Regions from separate parts of the Homo sapiens genome. Here all the other regions are linked to region 7. Evidence: promoter capture Hi-C in 16 types of primary human blood cells and fetal thymus (Javierre and others, 2016). All regions are on one chromosome and are shown on one strand. The core of a region is centred on a gene start or on the middle of the fragment in contact, and the rest is flanking DNA. Distances in the headings are between cores, read along the strand shown.

Region 1 (2,705 bases), core at 139-2,638, 740 kb after region 7:
AAAACTCATACCTCAACTGGAGAAAAAGATAATAGCAATTGAGGAGTGATTAATTAGTTACCTGGAGCCAAGATAGATTTTATGGAAAAATATGTCAGAGAGTTAATAATCTCTTACGCACTGAGGTGAAGAAAACAGGATAAGAATCACCTTCCTATCCAGAAAATTCTTGTCTACTACAATGTAATTTAATTTTGGAAATGTTGAACTGAGTTGCCTGTGCCATATACAAGTAGAAATATATCATAAGTAATCCATTGTAGAGAGTGAAGAGGAGTTTGAAAGAGGAATCTGGGCAGCATGTATAGACGGATTTTCAGCTTATGTATGGTAATTGAAACTTTTGGAGAAAATGAGAGCACCCAGGGAGAATGTACAGAATAAGCAAAAAATGACACAAGCCCTGAAGAAATGCAATATTTAAATAATTATTATTGAGTAATAGTTAAGAAGACTAAGGGTAGGAGAAAGACTGGAGTGACATCATGAAAAGTAAGAGGATGTAATAGTCCTAAAATAAGGGATTAGTCATCATCAGGATACAATGGCCAAGGAAGATGGGGTCTAGAAAAATATGCCTCCAGATTTAGTATTGAGGTTCTCAGCAGAGCAGTTTTAATAGGGGTAGTAAAAATGGGGCCAGAATAGAGAGTTAAAGAATATATAGGAAATTAGACGTTTTTTTTTGGTGGTTTTCAGTTTTTCTTTTGAAAGTTTGACTGGATAAGAAAAAAAAAATGGTGGTAAAGGGGGGATATTATGTTATTATTTCAATTATTATTATTATTTTTTGAGACAGAGCCTCACTCTGTCACCCAGGCTGGAATGCAGGGGTGCACAGTCATGGCTTACTGCAGCCTCAATCTCCTGGGCTCATTTGAGCCTCCTGCCTTGGCCTCCCAAGTAGTTGGGACTACAGGTGCATGTCACTATGCCTGGCTAATTTTTTTGTTTTTATTTTGTAGAGACAGGGTCTTGCTATGTTGTCCAGGCTGGTCTTGAACTCCAGGCCTCAAATGACCCTCCTATGTTGGCCTCCCAAAGTGCTGGGATTACAGGTTTGAGCCACCGTGACTATTATTTTAGTTTTTAAAGGTTAAATAATCTTTTAAAGTTTTTATTGCTAATAGGAAACACACCAGTAAAGAAGTTGATTATACTAAAAATACATTGAATAGGCTCAATAATTATAATTAAGTCAATATATTATGGTTAGACTTTTATTTTTCATATAAAACTTTTCTTTATAAAGGTTATGATGGAAATTTTAAAGCAGGGAAGACCATTAGACATCTATAATCCATTCATGTTATTTTATAGAACTATTTCTCTGCTTAAAATTCTCAGTGACTTCCAGTTGTAAAAGTGTGAACTCTTTGGAGCAGCATAAAGCACTCATCATGATTTGCCTTATTCCTTTCTGACCTCATCTCTTACAGATACCTGGCATTTTCCCCTGTGATCCAACAATACTAGGGAACTTGAGGTTTTGCTAATTCATGCTTTTCTGTATTTGCATATGCTATTACTTCTGCATTGAATGCCTCTCTTTCTTACCAGTTTACCGTCCCATACTTAAGACTTCTCTTTCAAGACTACTGTGATTTATTCTCTAATCCCTACTCATATTGATTATTATCTTCTCTATTGGTACCATTTTACTTCTGTCAAATTGACCACATAAAAACGAGATACACTTTTTACTGTCTTTGACATCCTGCTGTAGCTTTTTGAGAGGAGGCACTGTGACTTGCTAATCTTTATATTGCCACACCAAACACAGTGCATGGTCCATGATAGTTAAACAATAAATAGGCATTTAATGAATGAATGTGGCCCTCAAAAGTAAGTTATTTGCCCACAGCCACAGAGCTTGAGCTTGAACTTTTATTTTCTGGATAAATTCCTTGTATGTTCTAATTAAGACTTACTTAATTTGTGGCAGAATTTATTAAGGCATATATAGAAGGAGAGATCAATAGATGAAATCTTAAATGAATTCATTTAGAAGGAATAAAAAAAGACTTCTAAGAAAGTTTTAAATATATTCATGAAATTCATATTGTTCTTTTAGTAATACAAGATCTCTGAAATGTGGGGTACAATCAAAATCAGTTTAGTTGAAATTAGAAAGGTAAAAGTGAAAAACACTCTGAAATCTAAAATACACATTAACTTGTTTTTAACATTAAATAATACACAGTATTAGAATTTAAATAGTATATTTTGAAACTTTTGCCCTTTTAGGCATATTGTTATATAGTATATAAAAATGAACCGTTATGACATTCTACAGTATTGAATTGTTACTAGAATGTAAGTGCTTACATCCTTTCAAGACATTGATTATATGTAAAATTAACTGGTTAAGTATGTTTATTTTATATATGTCATCCTAAAATAAACCAAGATATTAGATAAATTAGTGATTTAATTATTAAACAATTTTGAAAAATCAACCATTTTTTGGCTAATTTCTTATCTTTTTCCATTTCATCAACCAGAGCTGGACTGGCCATTATGGAGGAGGAGCTGCAGCATTCCCATTGTGTGAATTGTGTCAGTAGACGGTGCATGACCAGGCCAGAGCCAGGGATTTCCTGTGATTTGATTGGTTGTCCATTGGTTTGTGGTGCAGTTTTCCATTCTTGTAAAGCTGATGAGCATCGACTTTTATGTCCATTTGAACGAGTGCCTTGCTTAAA
Region 2 (2,700 bases), core at 111-2,610, 670 kb after region 7:
GGCAGTTGAAGATTACAGTGCTGGCAGGTCTGTTTTCTTCTAAGATCTCTCTCCTTTCTTGCAGATGGTTGTTTTCTGTATCCTCACATGGTGTTTCCCTGTGCGGACAGGCCCCTGATGGCTTTTTATAAGGACACTATTCATACGGGATTAGAGCCCCCATCCTAGCAGCTTTACTTTAGCATAACCACCTCTATACACACCTTATCTTTAAATACAGTTACATCCTGAGATACTAGGGGTTGGGACTTCAAATTATGAATTTGGTGGAGCCACAGTTCAGCCTATAATAATAATGGAGAGAAATGAAAACATGTGTTCACAGAAAAACTTGTATGTGAATATTTATAGCAGCATTATTTATAGTAGGCAAATGTGGAAACAACCCAAATGCCTATCAAACGATAAATGGATAAATCAAATATGGTTATACTTCTAATGGAATATGATTTGGACAAAAAAGAAATGAAATACTTATACATGCTACAACATGGATGAACCTTAAAAACATTATGCTAAGTGAAAAAAAGCAGTCCCAAAATACTGTATATTTCTGTTTATAAGAAATGTCTAGAATAGGCAAATCTTTATTTTTTTTAGAGGATGGGTTCTCACTCTGTCACCCAGATGGGAGTGCAGTAGCAGTATCATAATTCACTGCAGCCTGAAACTCCTGGGCTTAAATGATCCTCCTGCCTTGGCCTCCTCAAGTAGCTGGGACTACAGGTGTACACCGCCACTCCTCATAAGAACAGGCAAATCTTTAGAGACAGAAATTACATTAGTGGTTGCCCAGGACTAGGAGAGGAACTGGAGTGACTGCTAATGGGCATGGGGTTTCTTTATGGAGTAATGAAAGTGTTCTAAATTTAGACTGTAGTGATAGTTGCACAACTTTGTGAATCTACTAAAAACCACTGACTTGTACACTTTAAATGGCTGAATTTCATGGTGTGTGAATTGTATCTCGAAGATATTTTTGAAACATTTTTAAAGTAGCACAAAAGCTTATTTTAAAAAATATCATTTGGCATGCAAAACTTCGGCAGAGCCAATTGTAGATGAAAATGAGACAGATGGCCTTCAAAATATGAAGCACACATTGTAAAGAATGTTGTACTCCAGGCCTGTGAATCTCACTGATATCTGGCAGCCACAGTTAAAATGTTGTAGCATCTGGAATTGCGGGCTGTAATTGAAACTCAACTGAAGAGCTTTCTGTGGAGCTGGAATGACCAGCCAATGCATAAAGTTGTTAAACATGAAACAAAGATAACTATTATCTTTTAAAAACCTCTCATTAACCCTCATGACGTTCTTGGGTGAAGGTCTAATCTGGCACACTTGCTAACTTCTAATAAAGAATCAAATGGTCTTCCAACTCACATAATGACTAATTCTAAAGCATGCAACCTCAAAGTACTACATTCTCCCTGTTCTAGAAATACAACCCTAGAGGGCCAGTCTTCCTTCAGCATTCAAATATTGAGTAGAACAACTGAACTGTAAGGTTCAACTAAAGGAATGCAACTGTGACTTGAGCTGTGGAACGGCTATGGCCTAAGTCAAGAATTCTCAACCTCAGCACTAGTGATTGACATTTTGGGCCAGGCAATTCTTTCTTCTGGGGCCTGTCCTATGCATTATAAGATTGAGCAGCATCCCTGGCCTCTACCCATTAGATGCCAGAAACATACTCCACCCCCAAGCTTTGACAACCAAAAATGTTTCCAGAAATTTCCAATATCTCCTGGGGCTTAAATCAAGAACCACTGGCATAAGCCAAGGAAGAACTAACCATTTACCATGGTACAGGATGAGTATCCCATATCTTGGGACCAGAAGTGTTTTGGATTTCAGATTTTTTAATATTTGCATTATGTGCTTACTGGTTGAGCATCTGAAATCCAAAATGCATTTCCCTTGAGACTTATATCAGTGCTCAAAAGGTTTCAGTTTTGAAGCATTTCAAATTTGGGATTTTGGGATTTGGGATGCTAATCTGCAATAACATAGACCATGTACCAAAAGAAAAAAATCGATATGTTTAATTTGTACTTCATTTATTCAAGCTCTGTGGAGTTTAAATATTCAGAATATTATGCAAAAACCAGTTTCCTTGATCATACTAAGTTTTGATGACCATAATCATTGACAAGTTTATTCAGGAGATTTTCATATGTTGCTCTAAAGTTTAAACCCAATGCTGAAATGCCAGCTTGGAGCCACATAAGGAATGAGCTGTTTGTATTCTATTAAAAGACTGCCCTTGAAAATTTACAGATGAAAAAACTTCAAGGGGATAAAAATGTGATTTTAAAATCAATTTTGCCACCTAGTAAAGGATTTGCTAAATGGATAACTATGAGGTGATGGATGTGTTAATTATCTTGATTTTGGTAATCATTTCAGAATGTATATGTATATCAAAACATTACATTATACACCTTAAATATGTACAATTTTTGTATGTCAATTATACCTTAATAAAGCTCAGAATAAAAAAAAATGCTGTCATTAACAGAGAGTTTGCAAATACACTCAAAGTCTTTATCATTAAGGACACGGACACCAGGCAGCATGATGGAACTCACTTTCATTGTTCTTCCAGCCTATCAACTGAATCACATAAGAATGAAAGATGAAGTAAAGTTTTGATACGGTGTACTTCAAGGTTTTTAAATGTGAATTTATTGCATT
Region 3 (2,700 bases), core at 108-2,607, 690 kb after region 7:
AGATCTGTGATGGAGAAGTTTCCACTTGTCATCACAAAAGACAGCACAAAAAAGCTTTTGTAAGATACTAATTAAAACCTATGAGAACCAAAATAAAGCTCTTCCAGCCACTCTCTATGATTTCATTCCACCCACTCTTCCTCTTCCCTCTTCCCTGCCAGACAAAACACACACAAGATAAACACACGCATAACACACATAGACACAGACTCTCTGTCTGTCTCTCTCTCTCTCTGTGTCTCTCTCTCTGTGTGTCTCTCTCTGTCTCTCTCTCTCTCTCTCTCTCTCTCTCTCTCTCTCTCTGTCTGTCTCTCTATCACATCAGAAAAATAGTTATTTCCTGAGTAGTATGTCCTGGACTTCCGTGTTGACCAGGACTTGCTACTGTTGTTTTCTCTGCCTGAAATGCCCCTCCCCACTAGCCTTGCAAATGTCTCCTTCCTTCTCAAAATCTCATAGTTCCTTTCTTGGTCCCCTGAGTCCCCTTAACAGAATTGATTGTTCCTGTGTTCCTAGGTGTGATGGTTAACTGTATGCGTCAACTCACCTGTGCCATGGTGTGCTCAGAGTAAACATTATTTCTGGCTGCGTCCATTGGGGTATTTCCACATGAGATTAGCATTTCAATCAGTGGACTCAATAAATAAAGTAGATGGTTGTCACTGGTATAGGTTGGCACCATCCAACCTGTTGAAGGCCCAAATAGAACAATAACAAAAAAAAAAAAAAAAATGGAGGAAGGAGGAATTTTTCCCCTTTGCTTCCTGCCTGATTGCCTGAGCTGAGATATCAGTCTTCTCCTGCACTTGAACTGAAATTTACACCTTCCGCTCCCCTGGTTCTCGGGCCTTCAGAATTGGACTGGAATTATACCACTGGCTTTACTGGGTCTCCAGCTTGCAGATTATGAGACTTTTCAGCCTCCATAATTGTGGGATCCAATTCCTCATAATTTCTCTCTCTCTCTCTGGAGAACTCTGACTAATACACTAGCTATAAATGACCTCTGTGATTTAAAATTAATTTTTTATCAACTGAGGATGGATTGCTGGATTAGTAAAAAAAAAAAAAGAGAATGGGGACTAGAAGATCACAATCCAAACTGATTTCACAGAACTGCACAGGGCATGAAATGTCCCTGGTAGCACGTCAACCAATCATGTTTTGTAACAATCTTGGCTTTGCTCCAATTATTCAAAAGATGATTAGTACACATTACTTTTGACAGTTTTGCTATATTTCCTTCAGTTTAGCAATGAGAATTTGTGTTACAAATGCACCTCATTATCTTGCGTAAAACATAGAATTTCCAGTTTGGGGCTTTTTAGTAGAAAACAATGGCATGCAGGATACTGATATGACTCTTGTGAATGAGTTGACTTCAGGAGCCCAACTTTACTCTGATGCTATTTAATATGCCCAAGGTATCCCCATAGTTTGCAAGAATAAGGCAGACTACAAAAGAAATCTTTAAAGGTGCCTTCCAAGAAAAGTGTAAATATTAAATTTGAATATCTCTCACTACTAATGGGAAGTCAAGATGCACCCCTCAGATAAAAAGAACTTGCTATTCACCTGGAGTAGTGCAGTCAGTTGAGAGCCTCCTGCTCTAATGCCCTCAGAAGACTGGATAGCTCCCAGCCAATGCCTGGGTATGATGTACCAGGGCCTAGCCATCTGTCCCTTATGCAGAGCTCCTCCTCTGTCAATGTTTGCACCAGAGCTCTCTTGCTTCGCCGAGGTTTTGTCAGTACTATACTTATTGCCCTTTGAGGCTAGTCATATCCAATCCTCCTTCCTTCCTATTCTCCTTTCCACAGGGGTCAGACTTACATCACAGTCTGAGTCTTTCCCTGTCTATTCCTACTCCCTTTTCCCCTTTATCTTTCACTGGAATTACTCTTGATTAATTTCTTGCTCTTCTAATTACATTTTGGTGTCTGTTTCCCAGGAGACATAAACTGATAGAATTAGATCCAATTTTAGAAACAGGAATCAGGCCTATAGAAGCACAGGACTTGCCTCCATGGCCTCTCCATCTGCTTCTAGGTTGAATCAGGAAGAGGAACATATATTGTTTATTAGTTTTTATTCATTTTTTCTTTAAAAGTTGGTCTTTTGTGGAACTGTGTTCCAGAAACAGAAATAGGTTCAGCTACTGCCAAGAACTTTTTCCCCTATTTGATCCATAAAGTAAAAGAAGGTCACTGTAACTGGCAAAGTGAGATTATCTAGTTTTGCTATGCCAGTAAGAACGAATTAAGACAATTTTTTTCCAATAGGAACATACATCAATATAAACCCATATAAATGTGTATAATTTTTCTATTGCCTAGAAAAGATCTATAATTCTGTTTCTTAGAATATATGCTTCCCACTAGACCAAACACAAATTTGAAAAGAAAAAATATTCTGGAATTGTCTCTTTTTTGAAAAACATATGAAATATTTATGCTTAGGCCAATCATAAGAAAAACCCTAAATTCAAATGCAGAATTCTCTAAATTCTTTGGCTTATTGTAGACACAACTAGAACATCCTGATATTCAGAAGTTTGGCTTTGTAGAATGATGATACCTCAATTAAATCTAACCATCCTGTGGAAATTTAGATTATACTTGGTAGTAAATCATAATTCTGCGAAGACATTACAAAGCTTATAAAACTATACGATTTTTTTCACATATTAAAATAAGTAAG
Region 4 (2,803 bases), core at 119-2,618, 790 kb after region 7:
CTCTGAGGTGCATTTGCCTTACAAGGGCATTTGGAGTATTGCAACTTCATGATCCTCAGTTCCAATGATTGCATCAAATACTGCGGCTGGAGGCGATGTTCTGAGAAATGTCTAGAGGATTGAGGTTCCTTTGGACTATATTGTGCTTGAGATCAGGAGAGCTACCAGAGTCCCAGAAAGACTGTGATGTAGTCTACTCTCATCCATCATGATCCATATGGTTTTTGCAAGGGCCAGATTGGTGAATTAGAGGGAGATATGATGTTCCTGTATCCTTTACACTTTTGAGAGAGATATTAATCTCTGCCATTCCATCCAGGATTGGTTGTTTCTAATTTACTGTCTTGCCTGAAGTGAAGGCAGTTTCAAGGATTTCTACTGTTTTCTACTACCTTTTATGTTATGATGATTTTACTCCATGAGTCAAGGAGCCAATCTAAGTTGAGTATTCTTGGGGCCCTCTCCAGAGACAGGGTCAGCTGGTAGCTTCTCTGGTCCTATATTCTGAATACATTACAGCATGTTCATTCCTTTGTCTTTTTATCCCTTTCTAAATACTCCTATTAGGCAATTTCAACATCTTGCCTCATTCACTATATGCTGTGTTTTTTCCCCAAATCCCAAGGATCCATTCCAATAGTGCATTAGGACTGGCTCCATAAGTCCTTGCTGAGATGCTATATCTTGAGTTACAGGAGAGTGCCCTTCACAATGAGTTCACCCTTATCCAGTTTATATTCTACTCCCTCAATTTCAGGTATATCCTCTCAGTTGCTGCTTATGCATATTAGCCAGGCCATGCAGAATGTTTGGTACATAGTTCGTTTCCTCTCATGGAAGAGCAGTTCATCGCCAGTAAGGCTGTGTTGAGGCATAACCCTAGTAACTGCTGTACAAGCCGTGAGTGGAAGTAAGGACAGATTTTAAAAGTCATGGATGTGCTCCTTTCTTCTGTGTAGAATGACTGGGGTAAATGGCCATATATCCCTTAAGTGGGAAGGAATGGGGAAATCACTATTTAAGTACTTGGCTGTAGCATTACAAAATTCTTCCTTAAGGGGAAGGGGATCTAGCATTCTCTTCAATTGAAGGGCTCTAGTTTTCAGAATAGATTCTGGTTTGGAAATTGAGTAAGAAAACAATTTTCTATTATGGTGACTAATGACTGTCTTCTGCTCTGCTCTTGTTCTTATAGGTTGTACATGTCATGCAACATCTTTGTTGGATGCCTACCCATCTTGCCTCTAAAAACACCATGGCTATTAGATATCACCACAGATATCTGTGAGAAAGAGTTCCTCGGTTATTATTCTGTCTTTGTTATCTATATATTGGATCTTCCTTAAGTGAGACTTCTGCATGATCTCCAAGCAAGGAGAGGCTATCTAGCATGGGGGAGTGGAGGTCTTACATAGCACAGAGGGGTCAAGATTTTCAAGCACAGAAGACCAGATGTTTCTGTTTCAGGTCTCTGGGTCCCATTTCTTCTTTATGACGACTCTGTATTTGGCATAGGAGAATTGCTGGGGCTGTGAATTTAGCATTATTTGAAATTTAAATAATTCCACAATTAGACCTTGCATCTGATTTTCAGCAGCCTTCCCTCTGGCTATGGCAAAGAGGGTAGGGTCTCTTTCATGCTACAGCTACTACGTAAGTATGGGAACCCAATCTTCCACAAATGAGAGTCTATAGATTTGATACTATACTACTAGGAATGGGATTCTTGTTGCTCTATGCCCAGGGAGTTATTCAATTTCTGAATCCCATCCTGAAGATTTGCTCCATAGAGCAATGTATGATATCAATTATTTTAGTTTGAATTATCCCAGAAGCAGATTTTGAAATCAGGATTTAAATGCATATGGTTTATTTGTGGGATGAAGGCAACCCTAGTAGGAAGGCGAGGAAGATAACCAACTACCACTGTGGACAACTGGAGCTTAACCCCACTAGATAAACTCAGAGAGCCAGTGTGAAGCACTCCTCAGTTGTCCCAGCAGAGGAGACGATGGAGCCAGAGTACATTTATACCAATTCCCATCCGTCATTGTTGAAGGGTGCTCTATGGGTATTTTTCAGCACTTCTGGTCCAGTTGCACAACAAAATGTGCTTTAACAGCAAGTGAAAGCTCCTGGGCAAAGACCTTAGGCATTGAGAGCTGTGTGCATTGAAGTGCTAAAAGCAAGGGCTATGGGTGGGATGCTGACAGCCTCAGCCAAACAAAATCGTATTATAAATGTATACGTGAGAAATAAAACTATAAAGAGAATAAAGAAATGATTATCACAAAATGGACGTTTTAAATGTTTTAAAATAGATATGAATTATTTAACTTGCTCTAATTATGGTTTGGATTTTCACAAGTAGTTTCTATCTGGCATCTCAAACTATTGAAGCACTGGTTGTATTTTAATGATTAATAAGATATATTGCCAAATTCCAATTTACTGAAGAACAACTTAGTTAAGAAATAAATCAATCTGACTTAAGCCCTTGTGTTATAAACGTAGGCTTCATGCTTATTTTTATGGCCATGCTTCTGTTTAATTTAGCACATTTATTCCTGAATTCTGAAGATATCAGTCTTATAATGCATATTATTGACAGGTCTTTCCCTCCATTGCCACTATAATCTTTACTATGAAGAGAAAAATTAATGAGCTGTATTTGCCAAGGTTTACCTGTGTGAATGAACTCTCCTCTCTCTTAATGCAAATATAATATTCTAGATACATGTTATATTCTTGAAACCAACCAAACTATTAATAATGTTTGATGATAATGATGATGATAATCAAT
Region 5 (2,836 bases), core at 284-2,783, 650 kb before region 7:
CTGTCTCAGCCTCCTGAGAAGCTGGGATTACAGGCACCCGCCACCATGCCCGGCTAATTTTTGTATTTTTAGTAGAGATGGGGTTTCACCATATTGGCCAGGCTGCTCTTGAACTCCTGACCTCAAGCGATCCTCCCAGCTTGGTCTCCCAAGGTGTTAGGATTACAGGCATGAGCCACAGCGCCTGGCCATCTTTTTTTTTTTAATTAAAAACTATGCAGCACGCAAAGTAGTACTCTTCATCTGAAAAATAGGTCAGTAACTAAACACCAACATACTAATAGAAAACTGTCTGCTTTTTCCCCTCAGAGAGAGTTGCCTGACAGGGCAGCCCAGTGAGACAGTGTTAATTGAGACCGATGTAACAGTGCCTGCCATCGTAGGCTCTGGGGCTGTGTCACCCCTCTTAGTCACTGAACTGTGGAACATTTAGATGCAAACTCTTTTCTTTCTGGTCAACCCTAAAGATTACCACATAAGAAATCAAAAAGGACCAAAACAAAAACCTTAACATAAGGAGGGTGGGAACACTTTCTCTAAAGACCCATCAGAGCCAAGAGAATCATATTAATACTAACAATGAAAACATGCAAAGGATGCTAATTAACTCTTAGAAGTTTTTTGCAGAAGGTAGGAAAGCACAGTCTGTATCCATGGGATGGAGTTCCTCCAAGCAGGACTAGGTATCTAGCTTTAAACTCAGAATGGATTTTTTAAAATGTGTTTGTAGGAAACACTACACACTTGGTCCAAAGATAATGTACCTGCAGACCTAAAACTGGAGTACCTGCTTCCCCCAGCCCGGGTCAAACAGCTTCCACTTTGGGGTAAATTTCTGGCCTCCTAACTACCTTTAGGCTTCCGCATCAGCTGCTCTTTTTTTATGGCATTCTATTATTCTATTTTCACACTTCCCTAGTCCCAATTCCACCTTTAGTAGCCATCACACTGTTCCTGATTCTATGACCAATGGCACAAACTAAGTTCCTTTAGGAATGCAATTTTTTAAATGCAAAATCTCCATTAAATTACCTGGTAACATGTTAGTTAACCAAAATGTTAGTAAACCAAAATGTTAGTAAAATGAATATAAAAAATATGGACTCTACCCCAAATAAAACTGGGCCTTTTAATTCTCAGCATACTCTCTCTCTTTCTCTCTTTCATGCAAACACACACACACACACACACACACACACACACACACCCCTAGCTCCAAAGACTTGGAAAACAATTTAGATATTGTTTTAATCTGTTAAGGCCACTTTTGAAGGAAGATAAAACACTTAGCATAGAAAAACATCCTCTGAGTTCTCTTCACCCTTTTATCAGCTTCCCCACCACCTTCTACCCCAGCTCAGGGCAGTTTTTCAAATACTCCCCCGCCACCCCCATGTCCCTCTCTCCTCAGAAAGCCCAGCCTTTGCTGGATGGCTTACTTGCTCTCTCCAAATACCCCCTCATCTCACCTCCTAGACTGTTCTGTTCTATATATTTTCTTATGTAGCACTATATACTCCCTTCTCCCTGACACTCAGCTGATAGCCTTAGCTAATCAGGAAGGGAAAAAATGGTGAATAGGTCAGAAGCACAAAGAACGAATATTCTTTACAAAGGAAGGACAAGCAATGTAACTACTTACACTTTGGTATTTTAGTTCCAATCTATTCCTGGCCCATAAATAAATCGAGAGAAAAAAATAATCGTGATGTTGGGGACACAAAATGATTAAAGTCTATAAAGCAAGGGAGGGATGGAAGGTAATAGTGTTAGTGCATTTTCCAAGATAGAGGATCAAAAGTCTGAATCTTAGTGTTTGTTTACCTGCCAGCAGGGTGAGCATTAGTATTTCATCCCACAAACATTAACTGTGGGCCTACTATGTGACAGGTATCTTGCTGGATGTTGTGGGGAATACAAACATGATTCAACTTGGTTTTGGTAACCAATGGGATGGCAATTTAGTGGTAGGGAAGCAGAATCCCCGAAAGGTAAGACAAACCCAATGTCAAAGGCATGTTTTTATTCTCCTGAGGATAATTACTCTGTCTCATTTCACACTCTGTAGAAACACTCTCCCACTGGGCATATACTCATCACCACGGTACTTGGTCCCAGAGCATGGGCCTCCAAGGATAGAACTCTTAGGGTTGGAAAACGTGGCGGGTGGAGGAGGCAGTTCCCTGAAATCATTCAATCCCTTGTCACTCATTCAGAACCTCTAACTACTCCCACTAAATTTCATCCAGGTCAGCATGACCCAAATATTTGTACCAAGACTTAATCTCCTTGTTCAACAGGCCCCCAGTACAACTTCCCTTCCTTGGTTTCCTCATAACCGTAATGACAGTATAACCTCAAGGTGTGGCTTCATAATTAAAGTAAATGGGGGTTTTCACATTTGCATACAAGATAGTCACTATTCACCCTTCAGCATGGAGTGCCATGCCTCTTTCCATTTTTGTTGTGATGAAATAAGAAATGATCCTTTCATTCCAAGACTATAGGAAGAAAAAGAAAAGGGATACCAGGCTGTTTCTTTGCTTCACATCATTTTTTAGCAGCTGGATATGACTGCACTTTTGAGAAGAAAGTGAAAACAAAGTAGTTTGAGACTATCAGTCAACCAAAAACATTTTTGATTAGGGCCAATAGATTTGTGAGGGTAAAGGAAACACCGTGAAGATTTTAGTGACACTGTGGGTTACATCTATCAATGAGTCACATTCTCTGCCCTGTATTATTTCAAATGATTCATATTTACTTTTCAGTCATGAAGTTTGTTTTTTCTAACTTAATATAGGATGTGTCCAGTGACCTACAAGAGCATCCAAAT
Region 6 (2,700 bases), core at 51-2,550, 670 kb before region 7:
TTACCAAACTGAATTCAACAGTGTATAAAAAGAATCACACAGCATGACCAAATGGGATTTATACCAGGTATGCAAGTCTAGTTCAACATTTGAAAACATTTAGAAAACATTTTTCTAAAAAAAGAAAAATCACATGATTATATCAACTGATGCAGAAAATCCAACACTCATTCCAGATAAACACTGTCGGTAAACTACGAATACAGGTGAAGTTGCTCAACTTGATAAAGAACATCTACATAAAAACTACAGCTAACACACTTAATAGCAAAACACTCAAAGCTTCTCCACTACAATCAGAAACAAGGCAAGGATATCCCTCTTATCACGCCTTTCAACACTGTAATGGGAGCACCAGCTAATGCAATGAGCAAAGGAAATAAAAGGTATGCACATAGATTAGGAAGAAAGAAAGAAAACTTTCTTTGTTCATTGATAACATGATCAACTATGCAGCTATCAGAAAGAATGAACAGAAAAACTCCTGCAACCAATATGTGATTATAGCAAGGTGGCCAGGATATGCAAGGTTAACATACAAAACTCATTCACACCCAGGCACAGTGGCTTATGCCAGTAAACCCCAGCACTTTGGGATGTGAGATCACTGCAGCCCAGGAGTTCAAGACAAGCCTGGCCAACATGCCAGGACCTTGTCTCTACAACAAATTTAAAAATTAGTTGGGTGTGATGGTGTGCACCTGTGGTCCCAGTTACTCAGGAGGCTGAGGTGGAAGGATTGCTCGAGCCCAGGAGATCGAGGCTGCAGTGAGCTGTGTTTGTACCACTGCACTCCAGCCTGGGAAACAGAGCAAGACTGTCTCTAAAAAAGAAAAAAAAACCAAAAAACATAGTCATTCATTTTCTTATATACCAGAAAAGAACCAGTGGAATTTGAAATAATTAATTTGAAATTATTTGAAATTTATATTAGCACCCCAAAAAATGAAATACTTAAATATAAATCTAACAAATATGTACAAGATCTACACGAAGAACAGCACAAAACTCTGCAGAGTGAGAATATTCTGTATGATATTATAATGATGAAAGACATGTAATTATATTTGTCTAAACACATAAAATGTGCAAAGAATGAGCCCTATCATAAACTATGGACTTTGGATGAAAATGATGTGTCAATGTAGATTCAATGTACCACTCTGCTGATAATGGAGGAGGCTACGAATGTTTTGGGACAGGCAGGGAGTATATATAATATCTCTGTACCTTCCACTTACTTTTGCTGTGAACCTAAAACTGCACTAAAAAATGAAGTCTATTTAGAAAATATATTAAAAATGAAGATAGCCACATCATCATGATAAGAGTAGGCAAAATTAATTTTTACTGCTTACTCAATGCTTATATTCTGCTAATCTCATTTAAGAAAAACTACAAAATGAACTATTTCTGCAGTAAAAATTTAACAAGATGCTAAGAATAGCCATGAAAAATGTGCACATCAACATTTAAAACTTTAAGTCAAGACAACTGTAACATTTTACAAATGTCCAACAGTATCTGAAAATTTAGGTCGGTCAACTGCTTTTTTGTTTTAATGTGAATAAAACAAGCACCAAAACAGAAAAGTAATTGCAACATTCAGACTAATACATAATTATAGTATTCACTGGGTTGGAATAAGCCTCTAGTTACCTCCTTCCACTATTATTTTTAGTAAGAAATTTTTTATTATTTGTGAACAAATTAGAGTGGTTGAAAACAATCATTCTTAATATTCACTGTTTTGGAGTTAGGACTGTTTTTGAAGAGGCAAAAATGAATTATATTTGTCATCACAGGCAATTCTTTAGAATGGCTTTTGATAGATAAATATACTTTTAAAGGAACCACTTGCTCAAACTACTATTTACTACGTAGTCATAAATAATAGTGGTCTGGGTTAAATGAACAAGAAAGAATGTAAATTCTCACATATAAGTAAAAACAGCTTTTTATCCCAGCATCCATTCCCAGATGCCTAATGGCTAAGTTCTTTTCTCAAGTATGTTAAGTGAATTTTAAAAGAAAAATACAACACATTATGAAAAATACAGTACAAAGACTGAACAGATGGAAAAATCTGTTTCAACACTTTTTTTTTTCCTTTTCAAAAGACAAAAAGAGACAAACGCACAAAGGAAAACCATTTAGCAGAAAGTACTGCAATAGCTGATGCGGCCAGATTTATAGTCACCTTTGACAGAGAGCTGCTGTGAAACAGCAGAGGTACTGCCATCACAAGAAAAGATTACGTACTTTAAAGAAAGAGCAGGATTAAGCACTCAACAAACAACTTCACAAGGAAAAGCTTCAAAGTTCCAGACTGCACTTATTTGAAAATAAAAAACAAGACCAAACACTATTATTAAAACACCTCCAATTGTTTAAAACTTGCTGTTTAACAATAGCTACCATGTGAGTTCTAGGACTCGTCATATATCTTACAAATAACAAGCTGTATAAAGCAAACCTTATTTTTCAAATGAAGATTAATATAAAACAAAAATTATCAGCTATTTTTTATTTAAAAACCTTTCTGGGTGAATGCTCACGTTAAAATCATAGCTCCAATAAATATAAAGAAATATGCTCAGCATGTTATCATTTCATTTATTTGTCATATATATATTTTTACATATACTTCCAAAAGAATACTAGTTGGAGAAATGGAATCAAGTAAAAATTAGCCTCATT
Region 7 (2,700 bases), core at 127-2,626:
GCCTTGACCTCTCCTAGGGTCAAGTGATCCTCCTGCCTCAGGCTCCTGAGTAGCTGGGACTACAGGCACGCACGACCACACTTGTCTAATTTTTTGTATGTATGTATGTATATATGTATGTATGTATTTTGTAGAGACAGGGTCTCACTAACAGCCCAGGCTGGTCTCGAACTCCTGTGCTCATGCGATCCTCCAGTCTAGGCCTTCCAAAGTGCTGGGATTACAGGCGTGAGCCACTGGCACTTGGCTTGGTACCATTTCTATGAACTTTCCAATAGTTAACATCATCTTTAAAACGCCCACTCCCAACCACCACACCAGGCAAAGTTCAAGTGTTCATAAATCAGAGCAGAGGGAAATGTACCCCCTCAAACAGAACAAATGAAAGCAAATGGCAGAGAAACACTGTATTGAGGAGTGGGGGGGGGGCGGGGGGGGGCGAGGGCACCAGGGATGGGACTAGGTGTTGGTTTAGCAAGAGAGGAAGGGGTGAGTGTAAGGTTTCAGAAAAGCTTTCCCAAATCTTCACGGAGTGTCTGTCCTCGGCTTCCGATGAGAGCAAAGTATTTGAGGAATGGAGTTTCCCTCACAAAGGCCAGTCTCAGAGCCAAGGCGGGTGGTGGAAAATGATCTGGAAAGGAACCTGGCTTTTGGTCTTGGTGGTGTCACTAACTAGGAGTGCAGCTTCGGGTTAAGTCACCCAATCCCTCTGAACTTGAGTTGAGGCTGAGAGGCGCCGGCCCGCTCCAAAGCAGCCTTCTCAACTAGTCCTGGTGTATGTATGATATACTTGCATTATTCAGAGTTCAAACTTCTGGAAAAGGCCCCCTGGCCTCCTCGCCTCCCTTCAGGAGAGCGAGCTCTGGCGTGCAGGACCTGCTCCAACTCCTACTGCCCATCCCATCCTCTGGGCCCCACCGAGTCCAGCCGACCGCGTCCATCGCATCTCGCCCTTGGATTGGGCCTCTCTCTTCTCCTAAAGGTACCCAGGCAGACGAGTTCAGGCAGAAAAGAAAAAGAAAAGAAGCAGAGAGGAGCCAGGCGGCCCGGCGGGGCTCTGGAGTGGGAAACTCGCGGCCGCGCTTACCCGCGATGTCCCACAGCTGCAGGCGCACCAGAGTCCTGCTGTCCCAGTTGAGGACCTTGAGGGCGAAGTCCACCCCGATGGTGGCCCGGTAGTGCTGGGAGAAGAGCTGGTGGACGTAGCGCTTGATGATGCTGGTCTTGCCCACGCCAAGCTCGCCGATCACCAGCACCTTGAAGAGGTGCTCGCGGGTCTCGGGCGCTGGGGCGGCGGCCGCCCCCAGGCCGGGGTCCCCGGCTCCTCCGCCCGCCATGAGCGCTGCGGCTGTCGGGCGCGCCTCGACTCCGAGTCTGGCCCCCTGCCCGGCCTCGCGCTCTGCCGCCGCGCCCCCGGCGGCCGCGGAAACTCCCCCGAGGCCGGCCAGCCCTCCGCCGCGCCCGCTGACGCCGCCTGACCGGTCACAGGACCCAGAACCCGCCAGTGCTCGCGGCCCGGGCGGGGCCAGACGAGGGCAGGGCCGGACGAGGGCAGGGCCTGGCGCCGGCTTGGGGAGGACCCTGCGCGAGGCGGCTCCCGCCCTGCGCCTCTGAAGCCCGGCCGGGCCCAACTGGACTTCCTCTCCCGGGCGGCGCCTCCGAAGCCCGGCCGGGCCCAGCTGGACTTCCTCTCCCGGGCGGCGCCTCCTGGCGGTCGCGGCGCGGAGGGAGGCCCAGACGCCCGCTGGTGGGCCTCCGGGGAGCCGGCCTGGAGCCTTTATGGGCCCCGGAGGTTCACTGGGGGCCTGAGGAGGCGCCGAGGTCGCTGAGCCCCCCCCGGGGCCGGGGTCGGCGTGGGGTCCGGGCCCAGCCTGGAAGCCTCTGGCCTGGAAATCCACCTCCTGCCCTACTCTCCCCGCAGGGAGAGCCACACTTGCGGGCCTTGGCTTGGGTCGCGAGCAGTCCCCTTTAGATGGGAAAGGAAGTGGCACCGTGACTTTGAACTTAACGAAGGACGGATAACACTGGGCTGGTAGTTCTGTTTTTAACTTTTTGAGTGAACCTCCGTAGGGTTTTCCATAATGGCTGTTCCAGTCCGCATTCCCACCACCAGTGTACAAGGTTCCCTTTGCTCCGCACATCACCGACACTTATTATCGCTTATCTTTTTTATAACAGTCATCCTAGCAGGTGTGAGGAGATACCTAGTGGCTTTTCCCTGTTCATTAGTGATTTTGAGCGCCTTTTCTTATACCTGTTGGCAATTTGTACTTCCTCTGGAAAAAAAAAAAAAGTCCATTCACATCCTTTGCCCGTTAGTTAACTGGGTGTTTTATTTATTTATTTTGGCTGAGTTCTGTGAACGTAATGTATTTTGGATATTAACCCCTTATCAGATATATGGCTCACAAATATTTTCTCCCAATCTATAGGCTGTTTTTTCATTTTGTTGATTATTTCCTATGCGGTGCAGAAGCATTTTAGTTGGATGAAGTCCCATTTATCTAGGTTTGCTTTGGTTGCCTGGGCTTTTGGTGTGATATTGCAAAAATCGTTGCTAAAGCCAGTGACCCAGCTATCCCTCTTCTGGGTGTATACTCAAAGGAAATGAAATCAGGATCTCAGAAATCGCTCTCAAGTTCATGCAGCATTATTCACAGTTGCGAAGATTTGGAAACAACCAAAGTGTCTGTTAACGAT

The links. The method cuts DNA at HindIII sites, captures the fragments that hold promoters and counts their contacts. A CHiCAGO score of 5 or more calls a contact.
Region 1: a fragment that was not itself captured here is called in contact with the fragment with the promoter of RAB32 in region 7 in 1 of 17 cell types (monocytes); the score reaches 5.5 in monocytes.
Region 2: a fragment that was not itself captured here is called in contact with the fragment with the promoter of RAB32 in region 7 in 2 of 17 cell types (M2 macrophages and monocytes); the score reaches 5.1 in M2 macrophages.
Region 3: a contact is called between a fragment that was not itself captured here and the fragment with the promoter of RAB32 in region 7, in 1 of 17 cell types (monocytes). The highest score is 5.6, in monocytes.
Region 4: a fragment that was not itself captured here is called in contact with the fragment with the promoter of RAB32 in region 7 in 1 of 17 cell types (monocytes); the score reaches 8.6 in monocytes.
Region 5: a fragment that was not itself captured here is called in contact with the fragment with the promoter of RAB32 in region 7 in 1 of 17 cell types (neutrophils); the score reaches 5.1 in neutrophils.
Region 6: a contact is called between a fragment that was not itself captured here and the fragment with the promoter of RAB32 in region 7, in 1 of 17 cell types (neutrophils). The highest score is 5.7, in neutrophils.

Annotation. Positions count from the first base shown.
Region 1 is chr6:145,806,221-145,808,925 of GRCh38, reverse strand. FBXO30 (F-box protein 30) reads left to right here. Exons shown (of 3, transcript NM_032145.5): 2 at 2,505-2,705. The coding sequence starts at 2,521. The region is part of intron 1 of EPM2A-DT (EPM2A divergent transcript); the gene reads right to left. Among named protein-coding and RNA genes, the nearest start is that of FBXO30, 7.2 kb to the left of the region's middle. The HindIII fragment of the contact is 3,628 bases long and covers 1-2,705 here.
Region 2 is chr6:145,874,274-145,876,973 of GRCh38, reverse strand. The region is part of intron 2 of EPM2A-DT (EPM2A divergent transcript); the gene reads right to left. It also overlaps a transcript of SHPRH not described here. Among named protein-coding and RNA genes, the nearest start is that of FBXO30, 61 kb to the right of the region's middle. The HindIII fragment of the contact is 702 bases long and covers 1,010-1,711 here.
Region 3 is chr6:145,847,922-145,850,621 of GRCh38, reverse strand. All of the region lies in intron 2 of EPM2A-DT (EPM2A divergent transcript), which reads right to left. Among named protein-coding and RNA genes, the nearest start is that of FBXO30, 34 kb to the right of the region's middle. The HindIII fragment of the contact is 2,602 bases long and covers 57-2,658 here.
Region 4 is chr6:145,753,394-145,756,196 of GRCh38, reverse strand. The region is part of intron 1 of EPM2A-DT (EPM2A divergent transcript); the gene reads right to left. It overlaps LOC105378039 (a long non-coding RNA gene), which reads left to right. Exons shown (of 3, transcript XR_007059799.1): 2 at 1,196-1,467. Among named protein-coding and RNA genes, the nearest start is that of EPM2A, 19 kb to the right of the region's middle. The HindIII fragment of the contact is 3,923 bases long and covers 1-2,803 here.
Region 5 is chr6:147,195,222-147,198,057 of GRCh38, reverse strand. The region is part of intron 1 of STXBP5-AS1 (STXBP5 antisense RNA 1); the gene reads left to right. Among named protein-coding and RNA genes, the nearest start is that of STXBP5, 7.8 kb to the left of the region's middle. The HindIII fragment of the contact is 3,605 bases long and covers 1-2,836 here.
Region 6 is chr6:147,216,625-147,219,324 of GRCh38, reverse strand. The region is part of intron 2 of STXBP5 (syntaxin binding protein 5); the gene reads right to left. Among named protein-coding and RNA genes, the nearest start is that of STXBP5-AS1, 13 kb to the right of the region's middle. The HindIII fragment of the contact is 2,032 bases long and covers 285-2,316 here.
Region 7 is chr6:146,542,509-146,545,208 of GRCh38, reverse strand. It overlaps RAB32 (RAB32, member RAS oncogene family), which reads right to left and starts at 1,376. Exons shown (of 3, transcript NM_006834.5): 1 at 1,088-1,376. The coding sequence starts at 1,337. RefSeq lists a silencer at 1,423-1,802. The HindIII fragment of the contact is 5,944 bases long and covers 515-2,700 here.